7 separate regions of the Homo sapiens genome follow, and all the other regions are linked to region 1. The links are contacts of gene promoters, found by promoter capture Hi-C in blood cells and fetal thymus (Javierre and others, 2016). All regions are on one chromosome and are shown on one strand. The core of a region is centred on a gene start or on the middle of the fragment in contact, and the rest is flanking DNA. Distances in the headings are between cores, read along the strand shown.

Region 1 (3,723 bases), core at 733-3,232:
TCTCTGCTTTGCTTGGTGTCCTGACCCCCAGGAATGTGAGATACTACTTAATCCAAGTGGTTCTGCTCTGTTGCCTCAGCCTTCCAGGATTCATAGGATGGTTCCTCCCCCACTACACCTAGGAATACAAGGAGGCCGATAGATTCCCGTGCGACAGAGTGATCAACCACAGCCTGTCCCCTTCCTCACTCCGCACATCCCAGTTTCTCTTTGCCAGCAACCTCAGTGCATCCTTGCCAGGAGTTTATCATCCCGTAGGCGGCGAAGAGGAGGCAATAATAGGAATCCAACAGCCCGTTACAAAAAGGATGCCAGGGCACGGAGGAAGCAGGCGGAATGAGGTTATCACTTGGGAGGTGTGCACGAGTGGAGAACCCTTTAAGAGCAATGACAGGTCGGCGGGGGACAGCCGGGGATGGCAAGAGAGGCTGGAGAAGTGGTTTTCGTGTCTCTCCCCGGGGCGTGCGGGGGAAATCCCGGGGCGGCAACGGCTGGTGCTCTCAGGTCGTTCCCCGCCTCCCGCGCCCCCCGCGGCCACCCTCCAGCCAGCGACCGCCCCCGCCCCCGCCCCGCGCGGAAGGAAGCGCCGGGCTCCCCCCACGCTCTCCCGCTCTCTCGCGAGTCCTGTGCAGGCCCTTCCAGGGGGAGGGGGAGGGGGAGGGGGGCGCGGAGGGAATTGCTGCAATGGAGCTCCAAGACAACCCTGCCCAAGTGAGGCAGTCGGTGGAAAGCCACGGCCACATAAAAATGCCGTATTAATTTTTAAAAAGCCATCAATCACCCCTCCCTCTGCAGAAGAAAACCATAAACCCGATCCCATGCAAGCCTGTGAGCAGAGCCACCCACTTCCTATTTCTGTCACAGCAGCTACACCCTACCAGCAACCACCCCCCGGGCGCCCCCTCCCACCACCGCCACCCCCGCCGCCACCTCCCCGCGGCTCAGCCATTTGCCAACTGACGCCCCCGTCAATAAAAATGCCCCAAGTGAGGCTGGGTGGGACGCGTGGGGGAAGGGCGCCGCGGGGGCGGGGGGTTCGCGGGGTTCGCGGGTTGCACAATATCCTAGAAGGTCCGCGGCTGGAGCGGACAGAGGAGAACCTGGGGCGGGGGAGGGGAGGAAAGGCGAGGCGAGGCAAGCTGCCCTGGCGCCTGCGGCACACGGTGCACCCAGGCCACCGCGGCGCTCCGCTTACCTTTCACCACCCTGTCGGTCGTCGACAACTTGGGATCAATTGCCTTGGGCTCGGACATCTCCAGCTGCCGGAGGACAGCGACGCGCTGCTCGTCCGTCCGACTGCACACCCCGACCGGACCGGCGGGCCAGACACTCAACGCCGCCGCCGCCGCCGCCGCCGCCGCGCTGCAAACCGCTCGGCTGGAGGTCTAGGCTCTGAGCTGGCTTTAAAGTTGCTGCCTTTTCCGCGCGTCCCTCCTCCGCCGCCGCCGCCTTCACTCCTCCTCCGCCGCTGCCGCCAGCCCCGCCGACTCGCTCCGGGCTGCGCGTGTGTGGTGGTTATTTATTTATTTTCTGAGCACGCCTCCCGGTTCTTCTTTTATTCTTGGGGGAAGGGGGATGGGGAGGAGAAGCGCACACACGAGCACCCACCCCGGCACGGAGACCCAGCACCGCGGAATGGAGCCCCACGCGCGCACACACGGCCAGGATTAAGACCGATCACATGGGGAAGGCCGGGGGCGAGGGAGGAGAGGCAGGGCCGCCGATGTCAGTGCCACCAGCCGCACCTTGGCGTCCCCGGCGGCGGAGAGGCGGCCGCCGCTGCTGCCGCTGCTGCTGCCGCTGCCGCTGTTGCTGCTGCCGCTGCCCCTGCTTCTCCACACAGAGCGCCGCCGCTGGTGCCGCGGCCGCCGGAGACGTCCCGCCGCCGCGATCGCCCGCGCTCGCCTCTGCCTCCCCGCGCCGCTCCTCCACTCACCAAGGCACAGCCGCCGAGCTCGGCAGACACAGTCCCGGGCACAACCTACCCCCCTCCGCCGCCGCCGCCGCCGCCAACACCGCGCCCGCCTCCGCCTCCTCCCCTTCCTCCTCCCGGCCCCCGCCTCTTGCGCGCCTGCAGCCTCCTCCTCCCCACTGAGCCCGCCCCCGACCTCCCGCCCCGACGCCGGAGTTCCTCGCGTTCATTGGCTAGAGGGCGCATCACTCAGTGCCAGGTGGCGGCCTCCCCGCTTGTCCCGCCTCCCGCTCCTCCTCATTGTCCCCGCCCCTTGCTCTGTTTTCTTCCAGCTGCCGGACCAGCGGGCCTGCCGCCTCTACGGACCAGTCCCTGCTCAGGTGTCACTTTTGCTGGCAGGCCGAGATTAGGGCAGGAGAGTGGGCAAGGCGTCGCGGCCAGGAGGAGAAGGGCTCTACCACGCCACCCTCCTTTGGCCTCCGAACGCGGACCCCGCACACACACACCCGCGCCTCTTTGGCAAGCGTGCCTTGTCGGCTGGGTTAAGCCGCAGTGTGAGTAGCCAAGTGCAGAGGGTGTCTCCGGGTGTGTGCGTGGCCCACAAGAGGGCAAGAAGAGAGAAGGCGGGGATAGGAGGGAAGAGGGTGGGGGTGAGAGGCAGCCCTGAGAGGGCGGAGGAAGGAAGAGGCTGGGAGCTCGGCGCCCGCGGCGCAGCTGCCGTCGCTGCCGCAGCTGTCCAGGGAGGATCGCCAAAACGGCGACGAATAAACAACTTACCTTGCGGAGAAGAGCTACGACTGCGATGCGGTGTACGGTTGTTTTTGCTTTTGCGTTGGCGGCTTAGGGGCTGTTACTGTGTCCCACCCAGGCGTGCACACCGAGCGGCGGGGCGCTGTGGAACGCGGGAGCGGACTAGCGGAGGAGGATGCGGACCAAGCCCCAGCGACCCAGGGCAACTCGGAGCTACCTCGGGCAGCCCTGCGGGTCTCCGAGGAGAACCGAGGAGACGGGAGAAACATGGGAGAGGGTGGCCTTTTCCCTGTTCACACACACATGCACGCAGCCACTGGCCGGGACAGTTGACACCCATCTTCCTTCCCTGCTCCTTCCAGTCATTCTACACCCGCTTGGTGCTGCCAGTGCGGGCAGGGCCTTGGAGCCCAAAGCGGATCCCCACACTTGTCCCTACGGTCGGAAGGAAAGTAGAGGAGAGAAAGTCAGGCGCGGCAGGGCTAAGAGCAATAGTGGCCCAAATGTTCCTGGCCCGCCTGCTGCGCCACAGAGTCTGAAAAGCGGGTCTCCGTCTACCAGAAGGTGACCTCCACACAGCCCCTCTCCCCGACCAACTGCAGCACCCAAGGACTGGCAACGTGGTTGGAGCTTTTGGGGGGAATTATGAAGAAATCTGAATAAATTTCTCACCCTTCATGTTTCCTGTTTTATTTCCAAAGTCCTTCAGTATCAGGTTTTTCCTATTTCCTCAATTGGACCACGGGTCCAATAAAAGGTTTAAAATACACACACACACACACACACACACACACACACACAAAGAAAACAAAAACAAAAAAAAAAGTTTAGGGAGCTGGGAGATGAAGCCAAAAGAAATGTTTTGGAGACAAGGATTAGATTAAAGCTCAAACTTGAAAATCAATTTTGAGTAAGAGACTGATTGTGCTGCAGCGTGACTTTGATGTGGACTGCACGGAATAGAAACACACACTAGATACCTCTGTGGAGGCCTAGCAAAAGGAGCAGACGCAGGGTGTGTCCCACCAAGATAGGGAGGCTGCCACTGGCACTGAGATTCT
Region 2 (3,723 bases), core at 639-3,138, 990 kb after region 1:
CACAAAGGTAATTCGATGAAAGGTTCATTTCTTTATAAAATAAATCTCAAGGCTACTGAAACAGACAATTGGGAATAATTTGAGAATAAATTAATTAGTTTTGATTACAAACAGGAATCTACTGTTATATAAAGTTGGAAATGGGAAAATTCTGAAAATTACCTAGTTTTTTAGATAGCCTAGAGTTTAGTAACATTCTTTTTTTAAAATAAATTGCATTGTAAATGACCCTAATACTAGCTGTTTGCACTTAGTAATGTGTACATCCCTTGAGGAAACACCACTTGGAATACAAGTAACTTGCAAACCCATTACCAGCCACATTAAATTGCCTTCATTAGATGTTGCTTTTCTTTTCCTGAGGATCACTGATCCTTCTCAACTTCAGGCCTTATTTTCCATTTCTATTTATATTCCTATTTTTCTCCCCCAATCCCTACTACCACCAAAAGGAATTCACTTTTCTCAAAAAAAAAAAAAAAGAATCAAAAGTATATTAAATTTAAAGAAAACACCTTTAAACAATTATTATGGTTGAAAAGTAATAGGTTTTTATGACTAGAAAGCAGAAAACTAAGTCCCTGCCCCTCAATATATCCCAAGATAAGAATAAATCATGGAAAGCATAACAGCTGCAAATCTCCCACCCAGATGAGAGAACAACCCTAGGGAACATCCCTAGAGAGAAAGATCTATCCCAATTATGGAAAGTTCACCTGATAACTGTGTGAGAAAGCTCAAACTGCCTCCTAGCAGCACTGTCTTACCTATAGTTAAGAGTCAGTGATTCTGTTGAAGTACTTGGCTCGGCTCACCTACTCTTCCCTCCTTGCTTCAACTCATTCCCCAACACCTATGCACAAACCACTTTCTCCAGTGTTGTGCAGTTAAGAATGCAATTGCTTCAGAGGCATCATAAGGGAAGATTTCCATTCTAAACCGCCAGAAGAGACAGTGGATTCATTGGCCGAAAACTTCTAGCATAAAAGTGAGAAATGAACTGAAAGGTTTCATACTAGACATGCCTGAAGTCTATCCATAGAAGAAAGTACTATTGTTGCTCAAAATATAGTCCCTTAAAAAAATTCATTATATATGAAACAATAAAAGAAAATTTCATCCTCTAAAAAAGAATTCATGTAATTCACATGAAAATTCATCACATTTGGTATAAGCAAGAGTTCAATCAATAAATTTTTTAAAAACCAAACCAGATAAGCCAAATTGACTGAGTTATAACTTTTCCATGAGGCATTTCCAACCCCAAAAAATCCCTCACCTTTCTAAACTAGTAGCAGATGTTTTCTAGTATCCATGTGACAATCATATATGGCCTTGTGATATGTTTTACAATGTCTGCTTTCGTGATTACTGCAGCTTTGCCTTCCATAGTCACTTTTCACAGTTTCCATCTTATTTCTTTTTTTTTTTTTTTTTCGAGACGGAGTCTTACTTTGTCACCCAGGCTGGAGTGCAGTGGCGCCATCTCGGCTCACTGCAAGCTCTGCCTCCCGGGTTCACGCCATTCTCCTGCCTCAGCCTCCTGAGTAGCTGGGACTACAGGCACCCACCACTACTCCCGGCTAATTTTTTGTATTTTTAGTAGAGATGGGGTTTCACCATGTTAACCAGGATGGTCTCGATCTCCTGACCTTGTGATCTGCCCCCCTCAGCCTCCCAAAGTGCTGGGATTACAGGCGTTAGCCACCGCGCCCAGCCTCCATCTTATTTCTTAATTATAAGGTCTCTGAGGACAAAGACAAGTCATCATCATCGTAGCCTCCACAGCTCTAGTACCATTTCCTTAATGTGACTAAGCAATGTAACCAGATAGGCAGTCGATGACTAGTAACTTCTCCCTGTAGTTCAAAATCTAAGGTCATGGTTGCTCTAGCTAGAGAAAGTATGGTTTTCTAGATTGTAATTCAAAAAATGCACTATAGCATAGTGTGTAAGACTGCCTGAGGTTCTACCACTTACTTCGTGACGTTGGTCCAGTTACTTAACCTCTCTGTGCCACATTTTTCTTACACATAAAATGAAGATAATAATGGGACCTTTATCATAGAGTTGGTATGAGTATGAAACATGATAATACAAATAAATTGGTTAAGGGAGTAATGCCACACAGTAAAAGATTAATAAATCCTAGCTATAATTATTACATTACATATAAAAGGGTTCATATGACTCCTAGAATAGTGGGTAAAGATGTGATTTTGGGAGTTAGATATGAAAGGAATGAAAAGCATTTTCCTAATGGATCCCAATCACACCTGGCATCAAGGCAAACTAAGCTCTTGACATCACAGTCAAATGAATTACGAATGTCCCTCATTTTCCCAAAGCCTTGAAATACAATCAACACACTGTACACAATCAACTTATGTGAGAGTGATCTAATAGATCAGAATGGGGCCATTGTCTTGGAGGATTCTTAACAAGAGACCTAGGTAACCTCACCCTCTGTCCTGCCCTTCCAGTTTCTCACCTGAACAAGCAGGTTAGAAGGCATTCCTAGAAGGTTTACCCCCACCATTTCTCAGCACATAAAGGGGAAAAAAAAAAAAGAACAAATGTTCTTTATCTCTTCTGTCCATAGTCAGTGCTTCCCAGAAACACCCTCATCTAACCCATCATTACCCCCACCCCAGGAAAAAGTGCAGTAGATGACAACAGGCAATGCAAAAAACATGTTTGCAGTATCCACACACATACATACACTCCTTTTTGCTACATACCACTAGCCTGGCCATCCATTAATATGAGCCCGGAGTTATTCTTTCTCCTTCTGGCATCACAGGGTCAGAAGATAATGAAGGAAGAGATCTAGCAATACTTAAATAAATAATGATTACAGGCAAAATATTGAAATAGAAAAGGCTTATCTTTGGGGCCTTTTGCATACTCTTCAGCCATGCCTGCTCTTCTTGAAGTCTCTGAAGGCAGAGCCTTTATATTACCTTCTGAGTTTCTCCAAATTCAAGTGGTCCTTACATCTCATGAAATCCACTGCAGATGGCTCCTTAGCTCCCACCTTGACCCACTCCAATACATTCCACACTCTCATGTCAGATTAATGTTCTGAAAACACAGGTCTTATCTCACATTGGTTTTTAAACACATTTATTCCTAGTGTTCCATTATTGAAACACTAAGCATGTGGGAGTTATTTATATCCCACTGCTCAAGGTCATTGCCAAGGTCTGATTGCAAAAATTCAAAAAATTGCAACCTCAGGCATAAATGGGTTAGTTCCTTAATCAGGCATATCACTGTTTCGTGCATTATAATTATATGTGCATATGTCATGTCTCCTCCAATAGACTGTAAAGTCATGTGAGGACTCAAATTATCAAACTCATCTTAAACCATCTTCACCCATCTATTCAAAAAAATTATAATGAATACATGTTATAAACCAGGCACTACACTAGTCTCTAGAGAGAGGAGTCAGACCATGCCCTTCAACTTGTTAAAAATCTTTTGGAGGGTAGAGAGAGGCAGCAGGGGTTATAGCCACATAAGCAGAAAACTGTAATACATATAAAATAATTTACATGTTATAATATAATTGCAATATATAATATGTTATAATTGCACAAGCACCAAGAAATACAGGATTGCATTGAAGGGACTTCGACTACACTCTTGAGAAGATCAAGAAAGGCTTCTCAGAAGAAGTAATGTCTAAACTGATACCAGAGCATAATCAGGTATTTC
Region 3 (3,723 bases), core at 753-3,252, 920 kb after region 1:
TTCATCAACTGACACACCTCGAATAAGCCACTAACAGATATTTTCCTTTACTTTCCCTTTAAAACAATTCTTTTGACTTGTATAAACTTCTTCCTACTGCCTTTCTAAAATGTAGCAGATATTAACCTAAGAAATTTATTTATACACAAGATTTAAAATGAAGGAAGTTATTCAAAGACTAAACTTAAAGTCTTTTTTATGTTACAATTTAAATGTGAAATCCACAACTAGAGCATGATGAATGACATCAGCAACATTTGTTCTAACCCCTCCTATGCCACCATGTGACAGGGAGCAAGTTATCACAGAGTTCCTTCAACTGTGAAATGAAGACATTGTACTAAATGATTCATTTATTTATCAACAACTTATTGAGTTTCCATTCTGTTCCAGGTACCCTGTGGAGGGTTTAGGCTGTAACAATATGGTCTCTACCAGCTCCAAAGCTTAATTATTTTCTTAACAAATTGCATGAAGTGTAAATGGAACAGGCTAGCCTTTACACTAACACTTCCTTTCATGTAGAAACAATTAAAAAATAGAAAATCCTGTGATGGACTCTTTGTAGGAATTTAGATTTCCAGAAAATTTACAAAATTGTACAAAATCAAATGACAAATGCCAACTAAAACACTTTCCAGAAGTTGTAGAAAAAGATAAAATGCAAATTCATTTTTAAGTACAAAAGCACTTTGCAATTAACTGGAGAACATTTTATTCCTAATTCTCCTCCTCTCACCTCTACCTAAGCAGCTAATCATTACATTTATTGAACTTCTGAAATTTGTAAAACACTCTGTTGAATGCTATAGGAAATACACAGAAATGGAAAACACAGCTTCTGTCTTCAAGAAGTGTATTTACATTGGAGAAACAAGTCATAATATATATGGATACATTAAAAAAAAAACATGCAATATATATCCAACAGAGAGGGGCTTACTTCAGAGCAACCATCTAAGAGGTTTTACAGTTACTCCAATATCACTTCACCACTCCAAACACTTTGGGGACCAACACTTTCAGAATCAGCCTTAGATCCTGCAATACATCTCTTTACTATTTCGTTAGTGGCAAATCTGCACCTTTGGATTTTTGTTTGTTTGTAGGCACAGATAAAAGCATTTGGAGCAAATATTTTTTTAATTAATATGAAATGAATGGGAAACTGTTAGTAATAGGATTCATCATCATTGTCATCACCAATGTGGTCGTAGTAGAAATAGTAACAGCAAAGGCACATAGCATTTATAATGTGCTAGGCACTGTTCTAAGCACTTCAAATACCGAATTCATTTGGAACAATTCTATGAGGAAAGTACAACTGTTACCATCATTTTATAGTTGAGGAAATTAAAGCACAAAAAGGTTGGTAAACTTACCCAGAGATACAAAAAAAGAGTGAATGGGCATTTTTGGCAACAGTGCTTTACTACTACACACATATCGGGGATGGGAATTCTTCTCTGTAATAGGATCTGAAGGTAATTCGCAAGGAGACTTCCCCACCTCTCAGAAAACTCTTCTGAACGCTTGATGCAACATTGAGTAAGTATCAAATCTTTTTTATTTTAAGAAACAAAGCTTATCCGCATAAAAAATTCTATCTTTTCTTAAAATGTGGGCTTTTTATTTTATAGCTGTATCTTAAACGCACAACACAATAAACAATCATAATTTAGCACAGGTGGATCGGGTAGTTTGCATAAAAAATGCCCCAGAGCGGGAAGCAATTACAGCTGAAGGAGAAACAAAGGTGGTCATAGGGAAAGCCACAGAGGAAGTGACCTGGGCTTTGTAAAACTTAATGCCGTGATATACTTAATGAGATTATTTTGAATTAAAGCAGTTGTTTTCATCTTCCAATCTAATTTGTCTAATTACATGTTTAAAATTTCCTTATTGTGATGACTTCAGAAGAAGACTACAAAACCAAGTCTTGACTACCTGATATCACTACAGAGTCTGTATACAAACACCCTTAATTTTACAGAAGAAATTAAATTAATATATCAGGAATGATTCTCATACCTCTAAGTACAGATATTATTGACTCTATTTATTATGCCTCATGCTTTGGTCCCAAATGATACTGTTGAGCAGGTAAGAGTTATACATTTTTAATAGTTTTGGAACAAACCAAAGTCAGCAAACCTTCACAGAAACTTCTTTTTTAATTCACCTAGAATTAAATCACTGAGCAGAGAGAACACTAAATTCAAGTTCCTGTAGTTAAATTAGTGAATATGCCTATCTCTCTCTTTCCTTTTTAAATTTTTGTTTTCTATTGTTATTGTTGTTCACTTGCTTGCTTTCTTGTCTGAGTTTTACTCTAAATATGAGGCTATTTCTATCCTCAGCCATGATGAGGCAATTCAGCCTAGTGAAAAGACACTAAGTCTGGAATCTAAAACTGAGTTCAAGCTTGGCTGTGAGAAGAATTACCGTGTAATCTTCAGCAAGACTTGTAACACCTTTCACTTAGTTATTAATGGGGATGGAAGTCAAAGCAATGTGTAGTGTTATCAGAATGGGGGAGAAAGAATATCATGCACCAAAGTTAAAAAAATAGAGGGAGACTATGTTGAATCCCAACATAAATTGGAGGGCAAAAAACAAAATTTTTTTCAAAAAAAGTACTTAGAAATTAAAATGGAGAAAACAAATGGGCTTATTGCAGAACAGTTTAAGGAAGGAGGAGAAAGTTGTAGAGGATGAGGAGGCCTGGGGGAATAGGGAGCACAAGGAAAGGGAGAAGTAGCATGAGGAGGAGGAGGAGGAAGACAAGTATAAGGAGGATGAGAAGGAGGATGAGGAAGAGGATGAAGAGAAGGATGATTAGGAGGAGGACAAGGTGGAGCATGTGGAGAAGGAGGAAAAGGAAAACAGGGAGAACAAGGAGAAGGAAACGAGCAAGCATGAGTAAGAGGAGCAGGAAGAGGACTAAAAGGAGGAGAAAGATAAGGACAGACAAGAAGGACACAAAGGAGGAGGTGAAGAATATATGGAAGAGTCTCTTTTAATAAGTACAGAATGTGAATCTAATTCTATTCCACTAAATCTCATAAAAGGCCATCACAGAGGATAGCTTCAGTAATAAAGTGAACAAGAAAATCTGATTGTCACTCAGTATCCTTCATCAACCATCCAAATGTTTGCTTAATGGACCCACATATAAAGCACAGAGTGGTGCAGAGGGAGGATATATATAGGTTCAGCATTCTCTTCTCCTACCAGGGGGAATCTGGCTTTCCAGCACTAAAGAAGTCCCAAACTTCAAAAGCCAAGGCTGATGCTGAGCCCCCAAAAAGCTATCACTGTCCAACAGGGCAAGAGGACCAGGTGGCTGTATGTGGTAGCAGAATGATTCCACTGGATTCCTCCCATTATAAGGGGATGCTCTTGGACTCACAAAGATAGACATATACAATATATGTCTTCCCTGCCTTCAGTGCCTCTGCAAGCACCATCATTCATGGACTTATAGTGCAACTGATATATAGCCAAGGTTTCCTGTGAAAACTATCTCCTAACCATTTTTTAGCAAAGGAAGTGAGACAGTGGGCTCAATACATATAATTCATGGATCACATCACCTGCACCCTCTAGTAGCAACCAGTTTGACAGAATGATGAAATGTCCTGATGAAGCCTCAGCCAGGGTGCAAGCCAAGAGATAACACCCTGAGAGGTTGGAGTTCTGTTCATAGGTTGGGCAGCCAAG
Region 4 (3,723 bases), core at 739-3,238, 650 kb after region 1:
ATAGTAGCTTTTAAAACTGTAGTTGATTACAAGTTAAAGTATGAATAACTTGCAAGATAAATACTACTAGCAGGCAAGCCTGCTCACACTGTCTCAAATAAGCTCTTTATATTCCTGGGTGGATAAGTTGTTTTTGTTTTTGTTTTGTTTGTTTTTTACTTTTTACATGAGTAGATTTAATTGGGTAAGGGTTAAAAAGATATAGAGATAAAGTTGAAAATGTCTTCTACATTCCACAGGATTATCATTTTTTTGACACTCTGACTTTAAAAATGAGCCCAGGAGGTGGTTTAATTAGCCTATGGACAAGTGACCTTGTGGAACTGTATCTAATTCATACAAGCCTCATGCCATAAGGCCCTGTTAGCCTTTCCAAGCATTCCACATGTGCATTACACAAAACAATTCCATGTATATCTGGGGGCAGTGGGGGTGGGGAAGAACCAGCAAGTAGAACTTTTCAAAGATGAACAGAAACTATGGATTTGTCTATGTGTATGTTTGTGTTTGTACACATACGTGTGTATTTGCACATACATGTACATGTCTGGTTGGGTCATCTCTTTCTCATCGCAGACCTAGTCTTTAAGGGATACACAGAGAGAAGGTTTCCATGAAATACTCACCACCACCTACAAACATGTAAAATTCTGCCTGAAGCCTGAGAGCAAATGAACCACTGCCTTTTGGTTCATGTGGGTATGTAGGACATAAGAAATGCTTTCAACCCATGTTACGGAAACCCTTCAATTTGCAGATGAAAAATAGGAGGCTCAGGGATGTTTAGAGGCTTGTTAAAATTATTTGGCTAGTAGATTGTCATGCTAAAAATTGAACTCAGTTTTTATTATCACTCTAATCATGTGCTTTTCTTACTGAACCATGTTGACATTTTAGTTCAATGGGAAGAACAAAGAACAATGACTTTTAAAACTATAAATCAACAAGAATGTTTGTGAAATCATGCATTGATGACCAGTGGATTTCTCAATAAAATCAACTATGAATATAATTTTAAAAAGAAGGGCTACAAAATAATGTAGATATTTGTAAGTAAAACCTCCCAACCAAAATCACAAAATCATGGCATAGGAAATATGGGCACAATAATATTTTTTTGTTCAGACAAAAATATCTTGGATTATGTACTTTTAAATTCAAAATTTTTTTACCATTATCTTACCAGTCTTTTTATACAGCTTGTGTTTAGACATAAGCGTGATGTGTGCAGCAGTTCATAGAAACCATGTTAGAAAAGTTCATAGAAACCATGTTAGAAAAGCACATAGAAACATTATTCAGGATTTTTCTTTTTACATATCTCTTTGGAGTATGACTAATTCTGCACACAACTTCTCCCCACCTGGCTTCATTTAAATTGCAAATAAATAAAGAACAAGATGATACATTTCCCAAAGTTCATAACATATGCTAGATGACCTGCTAAACATCAAAAGATAATGGAAGTAAATATCTATTACTTAAGCTTCAAGCATGTTTTTATTTTGTGTCAAAATATTATCTGATTCCTCAAATACTCGGAGATCTAAAAAAGGTACTTAAGAAGCACCACCACCACAATGGTGAACCAACTATCTCTGTCGCCCAGAACTGAGGGTTTTCCTAGGATTCAGGACTTTCAGAGCTAAAATTTAGACAGTCTCAGGTCGATCACCCTACAGTCGTCCTAAATGTGTAGGTTCACAAGCCCTTTAGGAACTGTTGTTGATCCCCTGGACAGCTAATCCAGACCACTCTTAACGGCACAGTTGGCTCTCATGGAGACCATAAGTTATTTTCCATCTTTCTGGGTCAGGATTTTATGTAATCTGTTAACTGTGAATCTAGTCATTGATTCTGTACTGGACCTGCCTAAGTGAGTGGCTGTAAGTATGCATGTCTGCATGCTCTAGTTTTGAAAGAAATGGGAAGTAATTCTAAAACAGGAGGCCTAAAACAGCTGGAAAAAGTTGTACATCGTTTTCTCATACTTTCTGGTTAGGCTTTCACCAGCAGTAGCAATCATCAGTAGCTTTTTGGCAATTTACTTTCTTCTCTCCTGAACTACTAGCCTAGTGAATCTCCATGAAACCCTTTCATTTTTCTGATTCTAGAATGCTTTGTTACAGAAAGCAACAGCAAGAGGGAAGTACAGCTTAGGGAGTAAATGTGGTAAACTGGGGCGTGGAGGTATACAGACTTTCAGGGCCTGACATTTTTAAATACATTGCCAAAGCTGACCAAGCATATTTCCTTTCCAGCATTAATAATTACTTGGCACTGAAGAAATGCATGCTGATAGAGCACTTTATGGTATGATATTTTATTATCTCTGTCTTGAAAAATTGTAGCCACTGATAATCTAATAGAGAGAAGAAACTCACTTCATTAATTTATTATAGCCCAGAATCCTGGGCAGGGCGTTTGATTACGGAGAATATTCCTTTATTTCTGCCAAATTAAAAAGCTGGCACAACACAGTAGATGATGTAAAGCTTTTGGCTAAATGCCTTCCAGATTCCATTTTCCAAAAGATCTACCAAGAATTTGCAGTTTAAGCTTTTCTTACCAATTTTATATTTGCTTGGTTTCTCCTGATTTATTTTTACTTTAATAACAAGCTCACACTGGCTCTATTAGATATTGTTGTCTTTGTCTACATGGTGCCATACAGTCAGAGGCCTAGGCCCTGACCCTGTCAGTACTGCTAATCCTTGAGTCTGTGACCTTGTGCATAGCACCTCATCGCACTGGGCTTCTGTTTCTTTATCTGTGAGATGGAGCATTTGGACTAAGGTCTCCTCCAGGCTTAATATCTTATGATTCATTTTGGATTAAAAGTTGAGGAAAAATAAGTATGACGTATTTTTTTCAGAGACTTTAACAAAAGGAACATATCTAAGTTTTGTTAAATTCCAATTAAAGAATGAGTTATCTGATCCAGTCTTCAGTTTGCAGTGTACAGTATTTAGAGCCCAGGAGCTATTATGATGGATGCTACAGAAATGCTTATTGTATTCACAGACTATTCCTGATGGAAACAAAACATCTGGAGGATTTCTGCAAGGCGAGGATTCACTCATAAATGACCCTTTTGCTTTTGGACAGGGTTGTACATTATTTTGTCTGCCCTACTTTGAGAGAGTTTCACCATCTGTCTAATGTTAGCAATTATTTGTTTTCCTAATTAATTGATAGAATCTGTTTTTTTAAAAAATATAATTGCATCATGTCAATTTAAGAAAAAGGAAGTGGCTACATGCTGTTGTACATGGTGCATGAAAATGGAATCAGAAAAGCAGTATGTTAGGGCTGATAGGGGCCTTAGAGATCAATTATTCCAACTCCCTCATTTTGTAGATGAGGAAAAACACTCAGCTCATTGTTAGCAAAGCAGGAAACCTGTATCTTTTGATTCCTATCGTATCTTTCTCATTCATGGTAGTACATTTCTTGTGATATTTAAAATTCTTCAATTTCAAAATGAGAGTGAAACTAGAAAAATCACTTTATTGCACAGAGAAGTTTCATGGGGTCACAGCTGAGAAGCCAATCATTTTACAAGGTTTATAACAACAACAAAAAAAGTTGTCTCTTTTTTTATCCCAACTTTTGAATTCTTATTGTCATAATTTACTTTTTGATATTGCCTCTTTTTTAAAATTATACTTTAAGTTTTGGGAGACATGTGCAGAACGTGCCAGTTTGTTGCATAGGTATACA
Region 5 (3,723 bases), core at 438-2,937, 630 kb after region 1:
CCAATAGTTTGTTGTGCAGTAACAGATTTTTGCCAGTAATGTTATATGGCCCTAAATCTAATACATTTTAAACTGTAGCTCTTGTGTTATGTCTTATTGAGATTCTACTCTACCCTTTGTGATACTGACTTTTTCATTATGAGTTTCATCTTGAGAACATAGCTCTATACCTGATGTCAGGAGTTCGAGACCAGCCTGGCCAACATGGTGAAACCCCATCTTTACTAAAAATACAAAAAAAAAAAAAATTAGCTGGGCACGGTGGCAGGTGCCTGTAATCCCAGCTACTCGGGAGGCTGAGGCAGGAGAATCACTTGAACCTGGGAAGTGGAGGTTGCAGTGAGCCAAGATCATGCCGTTGCACTCCAGCCTGAGCAACAAGAGTGAAACTCCGTCTCAGAATAAATAAATAAACTGAAACATTTAGGTGCAGTGTGCTCATTGTAACCTACAAGCCAAACTAATAAACATGGCTTCCCAATTGCTTAACAAAAGAGAGAGAGGGACTGGGGGAAAAAAATCTGCTTTATTCTAAAGCCATTTTCAGAGATGTCAGTGGAAAAATTCTCCAAAATCCTTAGAAGGAAGAACTGACTTCACAAGTAGTTTCTTCTATGATAGGAGAGTTCATCTAAGCTTGTTTTAAATAAATCATATAAGCAGATTTGGAGATAACATTTAGATTGTCATTAAACACATTTAGCTAACTCTTTTTTCCTTTTATTCAGACTGAGAGCAATGATATAAATTATTTAACTTCATCAGATCTCCAGTTAAAGATGAGTTGTTCATGTAAGTCTAGACTATCTAAATTATGCCCATCATAAAGGCTTACTGCTTTTTATATTTCCTCTGGTCTTGAAGCCATTACAGTTCATTAGAGAGATTGTAGAATATGGTGGTTAGAGCATGGAATGTGCAGGCAGACTTCTTTGGTTCAAAACTTTGCTCTGCCTCTTTCTAGTTATTTGTCCAGAGACAGTTCTCTCTGTGTCTGTTTCCTCATCTGTAAAATGGCAGTGCTAATAATAAAATCACCACCTTCATAAGATTATTGCAAGGACTAAATGAGTTAATGCATTAAAAGTGGTTTTATTAGTGGCTAGCAATAACACTCAATGTTAGCTGGAATTATTATCATTTGTTTTATTTGCTGGATTTTCTGATAAGCTGAAATCTTTTTGAGTGCTGTTTCTGCTCTTTATCCTTAGTAATGAGCACAGATCAAGGATGTGGCAAATGATCAATCACTTTATTAAATGAATAAATAAATGAATATTCATATTGTTATAATGAGAATGGAACCAGTGACTGATTATAACCACCAATAGTGTTTGATAACTTCCGTCCTTTCTCTGTGCGAATTTCCGCATTCAGATATGCTATCCTTTCTTTTAGACTCTCAAAGGTCTTTTCTCAAAGACCTTTTCCTACAACATATCCTCCCCAAACCAGGGGAAGAAGCTGATTAGAAATTAATTCATTCAGTAAATAATTTTCAGCACCTTGTATGTGTATAAACTAGCGCTGAAAGGCATTTAAAGAAACATCTCAGGTTTCCAGTTTGTCCAAAGATCTGAAGTTCCTGTGGTCATAAGCAGTGAATTAGAGATATTGCTCTTTGTTGCCTCTTTTCAGTATTCTAAATACAGCTTGGCTGTCTCTGGATCTATACTTCAATGCCACAGGGAAAATCGATAGTAATAACACAAGATGCTGAGAGTAGGGGTTAGGTTTCTCCATTTTCTAAACTAATCTTCTAAGTCTGAGACTTTCCTGTGAAGTGGGAAAGTATTGAACTATCCAGGATTCTGATTAATGCTGGCAAAGAATACACAAAAATAATACACAAAAAGATGGCTGAAGAGATTTTGAGTTATTTTAATGGCATATTTAATTCAGAGAGTACATGTAGAATTGGCATCCTGACATTTTCTTTAATTTTCTAGCCAGAGTAAAGTATTGATTAGACAATTTTCTGCTTTGAGCATTAATATATCTAAATGGAAATTTTGGATAATAAAGAGTCCAGGTTTGCTCCCTTCACATGCCAGATAAACATCATATTTTAATTTGCAATTATAAATTTCATTTGATTATCACTAGAATGCCATATGCTTCCTATGAATATCATAAAATTTATCTGAGTTTAGTCAGTTTTATAACTGGTGCTTCTGAAAATCTTATTCTTTAGAACAACAATGTTAAGAAAATAAATCATCTGCAAACTTAGTCAAAACAGGCATGTCATGTGGGCAACTTGTAAAAGATTTAAAAGTATCAGAGATTTTGTATGCAAGCTGAATCTTACGGTGGAATATTCAGGTAGCATTATTTTACAGGATGCAGTATTCAATTTATTTCTATTATAACAAAAGTAATAATATGAATCAGCAAATATTATGAATTAGAAAGTAAAATTACTTTAGTGTTGTGAAAGTCATCCAGATTTTGTGCATCTAATTAAGTCTGATGCATGTAGTCAGGGATGAAGAAAGTCCCTGAATTCCAAGAGATGCTGTTTCAGTCAGGATAGGCTAGCTGCAATAACAGAAAACACAGAATTCTCAGTGGCTAAAGATGACACTCATTTACACTGCACATTGAAAGCAGTTCAGCTTGGGGCTTCTGCTCATCATAATCACTAAGGACCCAGCCTGGCAGACTTCATCATTACTCATATTTCCATGCTTCTTGCAGCATAAGGAAGGGAATGTGGTGAATCACACACTGGTTCTTAAAGCTTCCTGACAAAGCCAGGCACATGGCCAAGCCTAACTCAAGGAGGAGAGAGAAGTGTAGTCCAACTTTATGATGTGCCCAAAAGAGGAGCATCAAAATATTTTAAACAGCACTAATGACGCAGATTAGCCCCAAAATTGTTCTTGTCACTGTGGTCGTTAAATGTGACTATTTGTATCTTTTTCATCATAAACTGTGTTGTTATTTATTAAATCAAGATATTCCTGTGATGTGGCCCATTCTTCCACTTTATTGGCTATTAACTTAATTGGAGCATCAGGACCACAATTCTTAAGAATACAATTATTTCCAGACAAATGTAGTCTCTGAGTTCTTCTAATTTCTTTCTTTCATGTATTTTCTGACCTTATATCAATAAGATTACATGAATTACCATCCTGAGTGAGATCCATGGTCATTCCAGCCAAAAATCCTATCTTTAACAAAAAATGAGTCACTTATATTATTTCTCCATTGTTCTTAAAGACAAAAATGATAGAACTATTACAAGAATTGCTATTTTAAAAATACCTGATTCTATTTAGTGTGCATGAAGATGTATACTCACCACAAATCAAATATTTCTTCCTCAAATTTCAACAAATACCAATGAAAATTAGTATTAAATGTTTTAAAATTTAGGGGTTTTGTTTGTTTGTTTGTTTGTTTGTTTGTTTTTTGAGACGGAGTCTCACCCTGTCTCCCAGGCTGGAGTGCAATGGTGCAATCTTGGCTCACTGCAACCTCTGCCTCCCAGGTTCAAGCAATTCTCCTGCCTTAGCCTCCCGTGTAGCTGGGAGTATTTTCCAAAACATTTTTGAAAGTAATAATAAAAAAGTAGGTACTTAAAAAAAAAAAGAAAAAAAGAAAACAATGAAACTCTAATGATTTCATTTACTCAATTTTGTAATTCCAGATCAGAAAATGATGAACTTTATTTTTAGAATCACAGTATTTTAAAGCAGTTCTTCAAAGATCATA
Region 6 (3,723 bases), core at 615-3,114, 540 kb after region 1:
AGTATTTAGAGAAAATAGAATTTTTACTGGAAATTTTGCATATCTACACTTACAAGATTACATTTAATATTTACATTTAAACTTCTAAAAAATTCTGTCAGTTAATTATTATTGAGATTCATAGCTAATGAGTCCTGGAGCAGGCATTTAAATGCAGATTCCTTGAATCTCAAAACATATTTTCTTCATGTAATAATACCACTTGCAAGTATTTAAAGAGATTCTACAACTATATGAAAACCTAATCAATAATACATATAAAATCATTTTCATTGTTTTATATGTTTGTTTTTATATTTATAGTCACAGATATTGCAATTCAAAGAAATGATTCATTCAAAACAGAAAATTAAGTTGATAAAAGAAAATATCTCTTTTAGATTTATACATTTACATTATTATTTTAAATTAACTGCTTTGAGCTGAGCACGTATAAAGTTTTTAAAAAATCTTTGCATAACCCTAGAAAACATTTGCTTTGCTCTTTTTTTCTATCATTTTCTTTACAAGCTGCAGTAAGATTTTTTTAAAGATATGTAAACTATTTATCAAATTTCACTTTAAACGGCTGTTTTGGCTCTCTTTCATGGCACACATTTAAGAACAGAGCAACAAATGAGATGACCTTTCTTTTACTAGTGAAACTTAAACAAGCACAGCAATTTGTTATAAGAAGAAGAGCAAGGCTGTTTTCAGCTCAACCGTTGACTTTCCTTTTAGATACTTCTTGGCCTACCTCCATTTATGGAAGCTAGAAAGACCAGATTCCAACATTTTTAACTAACCTTGCAGTTAGACATATCACGTGAGAGAGTTTTCAACAACGAGACACAAGGGGACATCTTTGAAACTTTTGCTTTTCTGGTTAAACAGAGAAAAAGAATAGATATGGTTGGCTGTAGCCCCCTCTCCCAGTACCCCTACCTCCCACACACATCACTTTCCTCCCTCTTTCTGGCTAAACATCAGTATAATGTTGGGAACTGCAGTGGTGATCTTGAAGCCATGGGAGCATAATTTATTCTTTACTTAAATACTATTTCAGATTTTATCCTTCTCTCCACGATTAGAATGTAGGATTAAATTTACTGTGTTTAGAATGTAAAGATCTAAGTTAGAATCTTTATTTACCACTTATTAGCTCTGCCAATTTGCGTGTTACTGAATTTTTTGTATCATGCTTATCACCTCTATAAAAGTAGACATTTAGAAAAATCTACCTTGCAGGATGTTATAAAAGTTAGAGATAGCTTATATAGAGCCTGGCACATTAGCAGTGCTCCGCATGTGGTAGTTATTACTATTAGTTAAACTGTTTGAATCCGTTCATTGCATGCTTATTCCTATAACATATCCTTTTACAGCACTCCAGTGATCTGAAATACTTCCCAGCTATTTACATTATGTAATACTGTCCTAAAATGCTTTCAAATACAGCCTCTCGATGCCATTTTGCTCAGTGTTCACACCCCTCATCAAAGAGAGGAGTGAAATCCAACTTCGAAGGGGTGCTTTTATATAAGTATCTATATATCTCAAGGAATTCAGTTTTGTGTAATAAATATTTGGGGGGATCGTTAGTATTTAATTAAACTTATTTTTTAGATAATTGTACATTCATATATAGTTGTAGGTTATATAGAAAGGGACTGTGTATTATGGTAGTTTGTGTTTTTCAAGGACTTGGTTCATTTCATCTAAATCATCAAACTCATGTATGTAGAATTGTTCATATACTCCCTTTTATTCTTTTGATGTCTGCAGGGTTTGTATTGATATCTTTTTTTTCATTTGTGATATTTGTAATCTGCATTTTCTCCCTATTTTTCTTTGTAAGTCTTGCTAGAAGTTTGTCAATTTTATTGATCTTTTAAAAGAATCACAGGCCGAGGCGGGTGGATCATGAGGTCAGGAGATCGAGACCATCCTGGCTAACAAGGTGAAACCCCGTCTCTACTAAAAATACAAAAAATTAGCCGGGCGCGGTGGCGGGCGCCTGTAGTCCCAGCTACTCGGGAGGCTGAGGCAGGAGAATGGCGTGAACCCGGGAAGCGGAGCTTGCAGTGAGCCGAGATTGCGCCACTGCAGTCCGCAGTCCGGCCTGGGCGACAGAGCGAGACTCCGTCTCAAAAAAAAAAAAAAAAAAAAAAAAGAATCACTTGTTACTATAGTTTTTCTTTATTGTTTTCATACTTTCAATTTTGAGTTCAGCTGTTATACTTTTTGTTCTCTTGTTCTGCTTGCTTTGAGATTGTTATGTTCTTTTTCTGAATTCTTGAAGTAGGAACCTAGATAATTGATTTGAGACTTTCTCTCTTTTCCAATGTATTATAAAATTTTCTCAGCCCTCCTTTAGCTATGTTCCAAAAATTTTGATATGTTGTATTTCACTTTCATTCAGTTTAATGTATTTTTAAAATTCTGTTCAGAGTTTCCTTTTGACCCACAGATTACTTAGTAGCATTGTTGTTTGGTTTCTTAATATTTGGACACTTTCCTATGATCTTTCTGTTATGGATTTCTAGTTTGATTCCATGCGGTCAGAAAAGACACTGTATGATTTAAATTATTCTAAATTTGTTAATATTTGTTTTATGCCTCAGGATATGATCTATCTTGGTATAAGTTTCTCAAACCCTTGGAAAGAATGTATTCTGCTGTTACTGGATGGAGTGGTCTATGTATGTGGATTGATGCTGATTGGTTAGATCATTGGGATGATGGTGTGTTTGAATTTTTTTATTTTTTCCTGATTTTCTGTCTACCAATTGTAGAAAGAGAGATATTTAAGTCATCACTGTCATTGTGGAGTTGTCTGTTTCTCCTTTCAGTTCTGTCCATTTTTCCTTCACATTTTTTGAAGTTTTGTTTTTTGGTGCATATGTATTCAGGATTACTATGTCCTCTTGATGGATTGACTCTATCATTATATAAGGTCCCTTTCTGTCTCCTGTAAATTTTTTTGCTCTGATGTCTATTTTATTGATATTAATATAGCCATTTTTGCTTTCCTTTGTAATTTTTGCATGCTATATCTGTTTTATTCTTCTACTTAAACCTGCTAATTTTACTTATTATAAATATTATTAAAGTATAATTTTATTTATTATAAAAACCTGATTTTATTTATTATAAAAAATAAATAAATTTTATAATTATTATTATAAAGAGAACATATAGTTAAATCATATTTTTAAATCCACTCTATTTTTTGTTTTTAATTTTCTCTGTTTTCATTTGTTATTTTTTTTTTCTTGCTTTCCTGTGTGTTACTTATTTTTTTTTTAAAGAAATTCACTTTGATGTATCTCTTGTATTTTAAATGCACCTATTTGCACAACTTTTTAAGTTGTTGATGTAGGTATTATATTATATATACAAAACTTATAGTCTAGCGCTGTCTTCATTTTACCAGTTTGAGTGAAGTATAAAAATCCTACCTCCTTTGACTTCTCTTTACCCATCCCCCATTTATAATATAAATGTCTTAGATATTTTGACTACATACATTTAGAACACATAAGACAGTGTTATACCTTATCTTTAACTGTCAAGTATGAGTTAGAAAACTCAAGAGAAGAAGGAAAGTCTATCATACTTACCTATACTTTTGCTTATTGTGTTCTTGCTCTCTGATGTGCCAAAAGGTCTTCTTTCATTATAACCTTATACTTTAGAGAACTTTTCTTTTTCCATTATTTTAGGCCACATCTGCTGATAACA
Region 7 (3,723 bases), core at 903-3,402, 520 kb after region 1:
AGAAGATTTTAGAAAAAGAAAAATTATCATGAATGAACAGAAGCATTATATAATGATAAAGATATATTCTCCAAGAAAACAGAAAACTCTTAAACAGGTATGCACTTAACAACAGAGTGTCACAATATGTAAAGCAAAAGCTGCTGGAATTGAAAAGAGCAATAGACAAGTCCACTATTGTATAAGATTTGTGATATACTTGCTTGGTTTGGAGATCTTGACCTGTATTTGTGTGTACTTACAGGGTTAGGTGTTGCCTGACTACTTTCATCTAGATGGTAAACAGCAACATTTAATTTTACTCTCTTCTATTTGAGTCCTTACATTAATTGGATTTTATTTTTACTGAGAGGCTGTAAAATACAGTCATCATAGTGAACCAAAATTAAAGTTAAATAATGTGGAAGCAGAACAGAGTACTGCTCATGTGAAGGTCAGTTCAATAATATATTACTGAGGGGGCCTTCCAACCAGATGAATCTATAAGACATTCTCTCTGACATACAGTTGAGAGCAGTAATTAAGTATTGATTTAATAACTGCCATTTAACAAATATGAGAATGTATACAGAAAACACAATCCTTTAAAAGGCATCTCATTGGAGGATTACTCTAAAATCGACATCATTATCGGTAGATCCACCAGTAAAATTTTGAGTTAACTAAGGATTCAATATATAAGAAATAAATCAGTTCAGTTTCATGTTAGATTAAAAATATATAGAATATTTATCTACTCTGTATCAAAAAACTACCAAGCAAATCTCACCATATACCTCTCCTGATTCATTACCGATTTTCTTTCAAAAAGTTAACTCCCCATGGTAAAACTCCTAATCTCTTTTGTGATAAACAAAATTAATATCTTATTTCAAAATAATTTTTATGACTTATCATAACATTTAAATTTAAATTTATCTTTATAAAATCTACTGAAATTGATTTCATTTGACTCCAATAACTCCAGAACTTCCATTACCATATGCGTACTGCTGTAGCTGATGAGATGTGCTTTAAAACTTTCATTTTTGTTTGTTGTAATTTCTCTTACATTCTCTATTGGATGGATACTTCTTTGGGAAGAGAGAGCTCCTATTTTTCTACATGCATCTTCTTTGTAATACAGGCGAGGTGTCTACTCAAGAAATATGAGGAAGAAATTTCAGCTCCTTGACCTAGTTAAGCTTAAGATTGCTTTCGTTGCATTTAAGTTTCCCTCAGCAATATTATAAGAAGTCCTTTAACAGCTTCATGAGATAAAGTGAAATTAATACTTAATCCTTAAAAACTTTTAAATATTCAAAGCTCTTATATTTAATGACCTATTCCTAACCCTAGATATTTGAGTGACAGTTTTCTGGGAGAATTTGGGAAATATCTCAATGACAGATTAAAAGCACTTAAAATTTGTTCCACAGATGAATTTAAAGAATTACATTTTGTTTAGTATTCTTACACTAAAACACAATAACTTTTTTATTGAAATGATTGTTTATTGATATTCTTTCATAGAAAGTCCTAAATTCTTATATAACTTTAATTCTGCTCATATATTACAGCACAATTCACAATGTAGTGTATCATTCATTTTGAACAACTTGTTCTCAAAAAGGCTTTGGATGAATGTATGATGTAAACAGTACTTCAGTATCAGGGGATTAAACCTTGCCTTTCCCAGGATTTTTCATTGCAGTCAATTGAATACAAATTGTATCATTTAAATCAGCTGTACTCTTTCAAATTACTATTTTTGAGACACTTGCCTGTAATTAATTAAATTGTTTTCATAAGATAAATAATAAATACCTAACTTTTGATAAATGGCTATACTTTTCCAAATTCTAAAGAATTATGTAAAGATTATAGATTATTACAAAGAAAAGTTATACTAGTAAGTAAGTAGGGACAAATAATTTAGTGCTTTACTTTTATTGTTATTTTAACATGTTTTTATATTTTAAGTTTATTTTTAAGCAAATAAGTCTAAAATTGTACATTTCATTTTGTGTTTTCCAACTACCAAGAATTTTAAAAATGATTTTAAGTGCTAGAGATGAGTAAAAGTGTTATGAATTTTTAAAGGCTTCTTTTATATTCTCTAAAAGATGTAATAGTATGAATATGCATTATATACTCTGCCCCTAACCCTTGTTTGTTTTTCATAAGAGTTTCCTGCTGGTTCAGTCCATGTCAATGTCTACTGTGATGGAATCGTTAAAGCTACAACCAAAATTAAGTACTACCCAACAGCAAAGGCAAAGGAATGCCTATTCAGAATGGCAGATTCAGGAGAGAGTTTGTGCCAGGTAAGTTAATCTTTCCACGAAGTTAATCATAATGTAAGCTGAAGAGCTAATGAAGGATAAGAGGATTCATGCTTTGGTATAAGTTTGAATGTGGATTGAATAACAGTGAATTACTACCAATCAATAGGAAGGGAAGAGGCAACCTCTGTTGTGCCAAAATGCAGACAAATTACTTTGCCTAGGTCAAAAAAAAACAGATAATGTCAATGGAAAACAGCTTATTCATTACAAGGTAGCCATTGTGATGGGCTCATTTTAAAGCTGTTACAAGCAGATAAAGGGAGAGCAATTAGAAAGAACTCCTAAGAAATGAATTCCTTCTTTATTCAGATCTGCATAACACAAAGTAAAATGAAAGTCTAATCATCTGTCTCATGCTTTGAGATTAAGGAGTTAGACAAACCAAAATATCACCAAAAAGGGAACGTGTGGTGTCAATCTAGAAATTGTTACTTTCATGTGGACACATCTAAGCTCAGTGTATGTTTTTCTTAGTTTCATTTATCATTGTTATCTGATTGTGAAAATTATTTTTTCTTTGTGATGTTTATTGGGAATATGTGCTTATTCCATCAAATTTTCAGAGTGAAATGCCATTTCTATTTATAACAATTTGATAACTAGAATTGTAACTTTGCTTATTTGTCTCAGTTTTTTGCGTGGGTGAGAGGTAGAAGAGGGTAGAGAAAGGAAGTCGAAGTATCTTCAAATTTACCATAAAATTTACCATAAAAACCTATCTTCAAATTTACCATAAAAACCTGTAAGGTTTTTAACAAAACTGTCAATGATAATGTAGCTGACAAGTTTTCATGAAGCTTTATGTGTTTAAACTAGTTTAGAATTGGAGGATTTGTTATTTCATGTGACACATTTTTCTATTAGGGTTTTATTTTTATATTATATGAACGACATATTTTAGAACAACAGAAAAGGTAAACATTAAGACAGGTAGTGAAATAACATTTGTCAAAATGGAGAGTCTGAGGACATTTGACAAAATGTCTATATTGTAATTCCAAAGCAAGTAGAAAAGTAATAGCTTAAAAAACAGACTGTTTCATTTTCTTGTGACAAGTCCACCTTATCCTCTACTTAAAAATTATATTCATAACAAAAAAGATTAATAAAGGTAATATATTGCATTGTGACTATCCAGTCAGTGTAGAAGTAAAGTAGTCTCCAAACATATTTTCTGTTGGTCTTTCTGTTGTGGGTGGGGATCTTTGAATATAGTAAAAATTAAATGTAATTTATGACTCCTGGACAATTGGTCAGGATGCTATAAATACACAAGTCATGATTTCTTTTACAGCTTGAAGTGAAAACAAAAAGTGAGTTTGCTAGTTTTTAGATAAGTAGAAAAATGCTGTTTCATTTTTACCCTCTGTACTGGAAATGAGGGGAAAGAAAGGGT

The links. The method cuts DNA at HindIII sites, captures the fragments that hold promoters and counts their contacts. A CHiCAGO score of 5 or more calls a contact.
Region 2: a fragment that was not itself captured here is called in contact with the fragment with the promoter of PPP3CA in region 1 in 1 of 17 cell types (fetal thymus); the score reaches 8.9 in fetal thymus.
Region 3: a contact is called between a fragment that was not itself captured here and the fragment with the promoter of PPP3CA in region 1, in 1 of 17 cell types (erythroblasts). The highest score is 6.7, in erythroblasts.
Region 4: a contact is called between a fragment that was not itself captured here and the fragment with the promoter of PPP3CA in region 1, in 1 of 17 cell types (total B cells). The highest score is 6.0, in total B cells.
Region 5: a contact is called between a fragment that was not itself captured here and the fragment with the promoter of PPP3CA in region 1, in 1 of 17 cell types (naive B cells). The highest score is 6.3, in naive B cells.
Region 6: a fragment that was not itself captured here is called in contact with the fragment with the promoter of PPP3CA in region 1 in 1 of 17 cell types (total B cells); the score reaches 6.2 in total B cells.
Region 7: a contact is called between a fragment that was not itself captured here and the fragment with the promoter of PPP3CA in region 1, in 2 of 17 cell types (naive B cells and total B cells). The highest score is 8.3, in naive B cells.

Annotation. Positions count from the first base shown.
Region 1 is chr4:101,345,544-101,349,266 of GRCh38, forward strand. PPP3CA (protein phosphatase 3 catalytic subunit alpha) reads right to left here and starts at 1,983. Exons shown (of 14, transcript NM_000944.5): 1 at 1,196-1,983. The coding sequence starts at 1,253. PPP3CA-DT (PPP3CA divergent transcript) reads left to right here and starts at 2,234. Exons shown (of 2, transcript NR_033874.1): 1 at 2,234-2,466; 2 at 2,781-3,340. RefSeq lists silencers at 369-758, 779-1,138, 1,609-2,218. The HindIII fragment of the contact is 5,765 bases long and covers 1-3,723 here.
Region 2 is chr4:102,336,767-102,340,489 of GRCh38, forward strand. All of the region lies in intron 2 of SLC39A8 (solute carrier family 39 member 8), which reads right to left. Among named protein-coding and RNA genes, the nearest start is that of SLC39A8, 6.9 kb to the right of the region's middle. The HindIII fragment of the contact is 4,591 bases long and covers 1-3,723 here.
Region 3 is chr4:102,268,263-102,271,985 of GRCh38, forward strand. All of the region lies in intron 6 of SLC39A8 (solute carrier family 39 member 8), which reads right to left. Among named protein-coding and RNA genes, the nearest start is that of SLC39A8, 75 kb to the right of the region's middle. RefSeq lists an enhancer at 1-367. The HindIII fragment of the contact is 840 bases long and covers 1,583-2,422 here.
Region 4 is chr4:101,991,300-101,995,022 of GRCh38, forward strand. The region is part of intron 7 of BANK1 (B cell scaffold protein with ankyrin repeats 1); the gene reads left to right. Among named protein-coding and RNA genes, the nearest start is that of BANK1, 200 kb to the left of the region's middle. The HindIII fragment of the contact is 1,009 bases long and covers 1,485-2,493 here.
Region 5 is chr4:101,974,560-101,978,282 of GRCh38, forward strand. The region is part of intron 7 of BANK1 (B cell scaffold protein with ankyrin repeats 1); the gene reads left to right. Among named protein-coding and RNA genes, the nearest start is that of BANK1, 190 kb to the left of the region's middle. RefSeq lists a silencer at 2,580-2,780. The HindIII fragment of the contact is 2,107 bases long and covers 635-2,741 here.
Region 6 is chr4:101,887,477-101,891,199 of GRCh38, forward strand. The region is part of intron 5 of BANK1 (B cell scaffold protein with ankyrin repeats 1); the gene reads left to right. Among named protein-coding and RNA genes, the nearest start is that of BANK1, 99 kb to the left of the region's middle. The HindIII fragment of the contact is 5,086 bases long and covers 1-3,723 here.
Region 7 is chr4:101,868,339-101,872,061 of GRCh38, forward strand. BANK1 (B cell scaffold protein with ankyrin repeats 1) reads left to right here. Exons shown (of 17, transcript NM_017935.5): 5 at 2,167-2,306. Among named protein-coding and RNA genes, the nearest start is that of BANK1, 79 kb to the left of the region's middle. The HindIII fragment of the contact is 1,940 bases long and covers 1,183-3,122 here.